2 separate regions of the Homo sapiens genome follow, and region 1 is linked to region 2. The links are contacts of gene promoters, found by promoter capture Hi-C in human tissues and cell types (Jung and others, 2019). All regions are on one chromosome and are shown on one strand. The core of a region is centred on a gene start or on the middle of the fragment in contact, and the rest is flanking DNA. Distances in the headings are between cores, read along the strand shown.

Region 1 (4,142 bases), core at 1,221-3,720, 250 kb before region 2:
CGTGGGTAAATTAGAATAAACCTTTTATGCATTAGTAAGTATTAATGTACTTAAGGTGATTCTTGCTGGTGTGTGATTCCAAGATTTAAGCAGGAATATTTACATTCTTTAACACTCTTACTTTGCTCCATTGAAAGACTTTCCCTCAAGCTCCCACTCCTGTGTCCCCTGAGACTACTGTAAGTTTCTAGAGCTGATGAAACCACCTGTAGGGTAGAAAGACCAGAATAGGGCGTGTGGTTTAGCAAGTCTTTTCTAGAGTTATTCTTGGCCCTGAGCACCACTAGCATGGTGGGTGTTTCTGGCTGAATCTGTCTGGTTGTCCTCATGCTGCACACTCTGACGGGTGACCTGAGGCCATGAGTCAGCATTGTGGTAACATTCCTTCTCATTACACCAGCCATTCTGCTTGAGTAGTCCTCAGAAAAGGGAACCATTTTTTAGGTAGGAAAACAAGCTTCTCGTTGTGGTCTATAACCTCTTCTCTCCTCTGGGTTCAGGGCGGGAGAGTTACAATGCCCAGAGAAGGGCATGCCTCTTCCAGCCCCCTAATACATATAACCACATTTGATTCTCATCATAACCCTGCAATGTTGTTCCCAGCAAGATGGTCTGTCACAGAATCCTTGTATGTGTATGTCCTTGTAGGTCAAGGCTTCTTAGCTTTCTGCCATTTGACAATTCTCCCTTTGTATGGGGAACGAGTGAACTTGACATGACCTGAATACACAGAATCCCAAGGCTTGGACCATTCCAGTCCCAAGAGATAATTTATATAAAATAAATCAAAGGAGGAGTAGAAAGTATGTGATTGCTTCAGTCTTTGTTTTGTCCTGTGTTGTGATAGTTTTACCAAGCACATGGCTCAGAGGAGGACCAAATGAGAAAGTGAAGCATTTATAACAAGATACCATCACTGTAGATTAACCTGAGTACAAAGGAAGAAGGTGGACACCTTACCCTGGGGGGAAGCAGGAAACAGACCCTATACCTGGAGCTGGCCTGCGGATATCTCCATGTCTGCCTCCCAAGATTGTAGGGTTGACAGATTTACACTGTTTCAACATGTAAAACGAAGAGGTGAAAACTTCACCAGCAGAAGGCTGAGAAACCACTATGAGCAATGCCTGCTCTTAATTCATGTTACCTTAAGTATAAAATAAAAAGGACTTAGTTGAAAAAACTCCTACCAGATTCCTGTTTTATGAAATTCTGAATTTTTTTATGTCTTAATCAAAAAACCTAAATATTTTAGGGCATGGAAAGGAGAATAGATTCACCCTTGAGCACTAGCCTAAATTAGTTATGAATTATTATGTTTATTTTGCAGGTGAGAAAATTGAGGCTCAGAAAGTCTGGAACTTTCTCTTTCCTCACATCCCTTTCGACAGTAGGGCACACGTCAAAACTGGTCATTTGGGAACAGTATGTTTTGGTACAATTCTTCCTTTCTTTCATGGACAAGAGTAATATTAATTTGATCAAAATAAGGCAAATGGACTTTGGCTTTAATAGAATTTTTATATCAAATATTTCCAGATAACAATGAAGTTCTAATCTGCAAAAGCTGCAGGTGTTGTTAGAAGAACCATCCTTCTATGGGTGGGGTGCAGTGGATCACGCCTGTAGTCCCAGCACTTTGGGGGCCAAGGAGTTCAAGACCAACCTGGACAACATGGTGAAACCCCATCTCTACTAAAAATACAAAAATTAGCCAGGCATGGAGGCACATGCCTGTTAATCCCAGCTACTCAGGAGGCTGAGGTATGAAAACTGTTTGAACCTGGGAGGCAGAGATTGCAGTGGGCCGAGATGGTGCCACTGCACTCCAGCCCGGGTGAAAGAGCGAGACTCCATCTCAAAAGAAAGAATCATCGTCCTATGAATTGGAATCTTATAAAAATAGCGCATCAACCAAATTGGGACAGAATTATTATATATATACATACGAAGAGAAAAATGGGAGACTGCCATGTGGGTCAGTGCCCTCAGGAGTCCCCAGCCAGAATCCCTCCCCCAGCACCACATCCAACTCCTAACTGTCCACACCTTGGCCAAACTCTGGGCATATCTGGACACTGGGAACATGTCCCTTCCCTGCCCCCTACAAACCATCGGCCACATTTCCACAATATGGGCATGGTTCTGCCTGTCCCTGGCTGCTGGAGACATCCTGGTGTCAGAGCTCCTGTTGGCAGTGCACAGTGTTGACGGGGAGCCATGAGTGCTGATGTAGCTAACAGTGCTCACCAACTGGTATTGTGCAGGCCTCACCCTGCTAGGTTTGCCCTCTGAGGCACCCTGAGCAAGCCAGCTAACAGCCAAAGGTGCTGTTCCTGGGAGTCTCAGCCACCCAGTTTCTGAATGACCCCAAGGGTTAGAGAGATCCACAGTTTGAAGCACCACCACAATGCATTTGCAACACTGTGGTTGGTAGACTCCAGTGTAGGTATCACGGATAAGCAGAGGTTGTTTTACAATCAGTATTTCTGATTTCTAAAGCCATCTCTTTCCACTAGGCCCCAAAGCTACAGAGGGTGAAGGCTAAGATCAAAGGAGTGGTGTTCTTGGAAAAACCAGAAGCAGAACTCATAGCATCAACACAACTGACCACAAGAGCAACAGTGCAGCAGAAGAATGGCCTCCCACAATGTAAGTTATAAGGTGACAACCTGGAGATAGGTCTCATCCCTCTCATGCCTCAGAGTAGGGAGAAGATATCAAGCAGATTACACTAGGCCCCGCTGACATCTAGGACTTTCCTTTGCAGACTACTTCTATGCTCTCTGGCATCTATAGCTCCATGAACCTTATTCTGCTCATTTCATTTGTTTCTAATTCAGAGGTGGTCACTTTCAATTGCCCAGTCTTTTAAAGGTGGGGAATTTTTGGATGGACTGAGCAAAGCCTTGAAGCAAAAGCAAGGATCTTTCTGGTCCCAAATACAAGTGGGATTTGAAGGTACCTGTTGCTGAGTAACCTCCGCTGTTTCCTCTCTGCTCCCTCTCAAGAACAAATCCTCCACCAAAGTCGGCTTGGATCTCACAATGCTTCATCATGAAGACGTGAGCAATCTTTCAAACTGATCTCCTTCTGCAAAGTTGGGGTGCAAAAGTCTTCCAGCCCAGGAGGTCATTGAAACCTTTAGCCTAACTCTTCCCATATTCTCTTTTCAAGTTTGTTGTTGTAGCTGTTGCTGCTGTTTTGGTGTTATCACTACTGAAATATAGTTCATTTGCCATAAAAGTTTACTCTTTTAAGGTGTACAATTCAGCGATTTTTTTTTTAGTATATTCACTTGTGCAGCCATATCCACTAACTCGAGAACCTCTTCATTACCTGAGAGAAACCCTTTAACCATTAGTAATCACCTCAATTCCCTCCTTTTCCCAGCTGTGGCAACCAATAATCTATATTTTGTCTATGGATTTACCTTGTCTGGACATTTCATGTGAGTGGAATCATACAAAATGTGGCCTTTTATATCTGGCTGTTTTCACTTTTGTTTTCAACGTTCACCCCCATTGTAGCACGTGTCAGTACTTTATGCCTTTGATGGCTAAATAACATTCCACTGTATGAACATACCACATTGTGCTTATCCATCCATCCATGGATGACATTTAGATTGTTTCCACCTTTTAGATAAGATGAAAAATCCTGCTATGAACATTCATTTACAAGTTTTTATGTATTTGTAAAATTTTTCAAAAACATACTCAAAAACTTTTTTTTCAAATAGAAAGCTTTAGCTTTAATAACTATTGCCTCTGGGAATAATTTTGGTCTTATTGCCTGTCTTGTCAAGGCTGAACAATGATCCTTTATTACTCTTTTTTTTTTTTTTTTTTTGAGACGGAGTCTCGCTCTGGCACCCAGGCTGGAGTGCGGTGGTGCAATCTCGGCTCACTGCAAGCTCTGCCTCCCGGGTTCACGCCATTCTCCTGCCTCAGCCTCCCAAGTAGCTGGGACTACAGGCGCCCGCCACCACACCTGGCTAATTTTTTGTATTTTTAGTAGAGACAGGGTTTCACCGTGTTAGCCAGGATGGTCTCGATCTCCTGACCTGGTGATCCACCCGCCTCGGCCTCCCAAAGTGCTGGGATTACAGACTTGAGCCACTGTGCTGGACCGATCCTTTA
Region 2 (3,967 bases), core at 569-3,068:
AGAAAGCTCCATCTTTCCAAATCATTTTACTGGCAGACACACAAGTAGTTCATTTGAAAGTATTAAAACTCTGAAACATGTTAACATAAGCTAAGTTTAAGGAAAAGATCATATCATATAATATTACACATTAGAGACAACACTAAACACTTATTATAAGGCTAACTGTTCCCACTAAAATATCACACTTAAGGTAAAAATGAAACTTCTGCTACTTATAACTCTTTTTTCTAATCTATTACTGCTAATCACAACACAAACTTATGCTATAACCATAATCTCAATTAACTCCAAGAATGAAAAATCTGTAGAATTTAGAAATATAAAATGAACTTCAAACAACTAAAAATACGTACTGTAGAAGTTACAATCAACCAGTAAGTATTTATCATATGCCAGGCTCTGTGCTTAGATTAAGTACAAACAGCAAAGTATAAAGTTCCTCAAAGTTAGTCACGTTCCAAGGACCTGAAATTTCAGGCAAGTACGTGCTTTACCATCACTTTTCACAAAATAAAAGCCACTCACCTACAAATGTTTGTATTTCCTTTTTGGCCCATGTAGGAATACTTCCCATTGCCCACTAAAACTGTTTCCTATTCAGTTCAGCCCATAAAAATGCCCAATCCGGTCAGTTCCTCACGTCAGGATCCTCACAGTACTTAAAGTGAAAGGCTTCGAAAAAGGTATTTCATCAAATCACAAGGTTCAGTATTTTATGTTCAGTGACACCTACACCTGCAGATACTACAACACATAACTGGGCTAACCTGGGTCAAGTACCTAGTTGCACCGATTTAGTTCTTCCCCTTAAAGTGTTGCTAGTAAAGGCAAACTCTACTTCTTCAAAAAGTCGGCTTTTTGCAATGCCCATTAGGCACTAGAAAAGGGAAATTGATTGGTTCGTCATAGTTGCCCTACTTCCATTTCAGGTCCAAAGAAAAAAACTATTCCATAGGGAGTAACAAGGGGGCCACACGCAAATCAAGGTGGCAGATGCTAAACTGAACTTTGTGATGACCACGATTTAACCGAAAAGGTGATGGATGTGGGGGAGGGGGATGACCCAACTGAGCCATACATGTGCAGCTTGAGATAAAAAAGTCCACTTCATGAAGCAGTCAAAGTAGAGGGTGGGAAACAAACCGGTCGGGCCGAGCAACAACCCCAGGGTGCTGACCGAGCTCGGAGGCGGAGGGCCCTGGAGCCCAGGGACCAGAGAAAGGAGACCTAGGGCAAACCATAGGATCACAAGAACCAGCAGTAACGTGGAAAGGCCAACGCTGCCACAGAGTAGCGTGTAAGGGGACACGAAGAAGGGAGCGATGAGTTAGAAGGGAGTGACAGCAGGAGGGAGACCAGTGCCAGGGGCGAGTGGCAAGTGGCAACTGCGAAAGGCGAGGCACTGGCAGCCGGAGGTGGTGGGACTCTGTTGAGTCAGCACAGCTCCTACTCTGAGGGCACTTGTAGGATCCCCGCTGCTCCTCGGGCCCTGGAGCCCACGGCGAAGGGTCAGGCCCACCTTCCGTACAGATGATGTTCTCTGACGGGCTGGCGCCGGCCCCTTCCCCATTTCACAGGTAAACACTGGCCACCGTCGCCGCTTACCTCAGTTAACATTATTACACCCCGGGGAAGTGAGGTCCTCCCTAGCCTCGCCTCATGGCAACAGCCGTAGCAGCAGCGAAAACTGCTCGGGCCGCCGCCAACGGCGGCAACTGCTCCTTCAGTCTTCTCCCGGGCGGCGGTTTTACTCGGCTTCGCTGGCCTCCCCTCGGCCCGGTCGCTCGCGACGGACGCGCCGCCATCTTGGAAGAGCGACGTCCGCGTCTCGCTGCAACGTGCGTTCCCATTGGCGGGCGCAGGGGCTGCTGGCGTCTCGTGACCGTCTCCATAGCGCCGGCGCGCGGAGAAGCGGAGGTAGGCTGTCGGCAGTCGGCTTGGCGCTGACTTGTAGGACCCCGGGACCGGGCGCCTGGGCCAACTTGGGACCGCTGGGAGTGCAGAGGGGCCCCAGCGCCCGAGCCTTCCGGGAATGGACGTGCGCGCCCTTGGGGCCGGCGCATCATCCACCGCCCACTAGCGTTGGCCCGCCCTGGGGAGAGGAGAAAATGCCAGAGGCCGACACTTGACTGATGGCGCTGCGGACCTCGCTGGTCTTGGGGACAAGGCGGCAGATTTCCTTTAGAAAAACTTCCCTCTCGCGTCTCCCTGGCCCCGCGGCGACCGAAGAGTTGGGGTTCGGCTTTCTTCTCCTGGGATTTAAGTGTTATTTGAAACAGCTCCCTGCGCGGCCCTTTTCTCCTAAACTTTGACAGAAACTTCCCTTTGTCCCTACCAATCCTCAGTGAGTTCTTTACAGGGGTCCGAGACAGGTTGTAGATATGATGCGGCTTATCGGCTTTACCCCGATCCTAGCGGAGTTAGGACTTGCTGATGTAATTGGCCAGCACCTGCCTAACAATGAAGGTTTAGTTATGCTACAAGTAATGCACCTCTAAAAAAACGTAAAACAGGCTTTACGTTTTACCTGCTATCTCCACAGGTTTACTAGCTGCTTAATACAATATGCTTGTATATCAAGGTGAGCAAATTTCAGCAAATGTCATTGTAAATAGTCCCAACTTAAATGGAATTGAACTCTGGAACTCAATGTGCATAGAAGTCCCTGAGACTGACGCCATTCTAGATCTACCACTAGATGGTTTGCGATGTACGGAATTAAAGGCAGTCACTTCTACCTGAATTGTGATGAAAGTAGTTTACCTGAACATGCTGGGAAAGTGTGCTACCCTGTTTTGTATTAGAAACCAGTTTCCAAGTAAATTGAAAAGCAAATTTTCAGACTTGACATTAAAAACACCTCCATGTCATTCTTACAAGAGGTACAAAAGCATTTTAGAAAACTAAAGCCAGGAGTTTCTTCCCTTTTACCAGAATCTTTTCCCTCCATTTAACAATAGTACTGTTGTGCTAAATGAAATTTACTTAATGTATTACTCTTACAGTCTCAAAACAATAAGGGCATTGCAAACCTTGTATTATCTCTATCGTGTCAAGGAAACAAAACGGTTCATTTAAGCAGTCATGCAAAAAATTCAAGAAAAACTGATTTTGCTCAATTCAACTAATTGAAGCAAAGTAGTTTTTCTTGTTGTTTTAATCTGCATTTTGTACATCATTTCCACATTGCTGGACCAGCAAAATTCTGACCTCTGCAATACAATAAAATGTGTTACTGGTATTGACAGATGAAGCCACAAATAGAAAATGAGCATGGAAATCCTACCTGGACTGAGGTATCAAAGGATACCAAGAGATACTAGAGACAACAAGGAACCTGGAAAAAGATAGTGTTCCAACCTGTAAATAAGAAAACAGAGAAGGAGGTTCATTAATATTTAAGATACCAGCTAGTAAATTAAAACAGCAATGTAGTTGTCTGGCTTGAGTATTCAGTTTTATTTACTACATCTTTTTATCTTTTCTAGAAGCAAGGCATTAAGTGTTGACACTTGAGTATTGAACCAATCTGTGATATGACATGAATATGCCTTTAACTTTCAGAAGTTTGTCTACAGACTTACAAGGAAACCAAAAGTAGTCGCTCTTCCAATGGCTTCCTAATTTTCTCAGCCTGAGTCTTTTCTGCAACCTAAAAATCCTATGCTAGCTGGCCTCCCAAGTCCTACCTCACCTCCACCCCTCTGACCTCATTTCTGCTAAGCACTTTGTTCCAGTTACACAGACCTGCTCCCTGCTTCTGTAACACCAAGGCATCTTCTTGCCCTGAGGCCCTTACACTGTGTATAGTTTCTATCTGCAAAGATCTTTCCACCAAATACCTGCATGGCTAGATCTTCCACTTCTGTCCAATCTTTGCTTAAAAGTCATCTTTTTTCAAAGAAGCCTACCCTAATCATCTCATTTAAAATATTGCCCCTTCCCCAGAATCCTCCCTTCCTTG

Evidence for each region. The method cuts DNA at HindIII sites, captures the fragments that hold promoters and counts their contacts. A contact is called where the count stands out against the background at its distance.
Region 1: a contact is called between a fragment that was not itself captured here and the fragment with the promoter of SNX13 in region 2, in 1 of the 25 tissues and cell types used here (hippocampus).

What each region holds. Positions count from the first base shown.
Region 1 is chr7:17,689,901-17,694,042 of GRCh38, forward strand. No RefSeq gene overlaps it. Among named protein-coding and RNA genes, the nearest start is that of LINC02889, 130 kb to the left of the region's middle. The HindIII fragment of the contact is 6,266 bases long and covers 1-4,142 here.
Region 2 is chr7:17,938,676-17,942,642 of GRCh38, forward strand. It overlaps SNX13 (sorting nexin 13), which reads right to left and starts at 1,819. Exons shown (of 26, transcript NM_015132.5): 1 at 1,609-1,819. The coding sequence starts at 1,620. The HindIII fragment of the contact is 14,565 bases long and covers 1-3,967 here.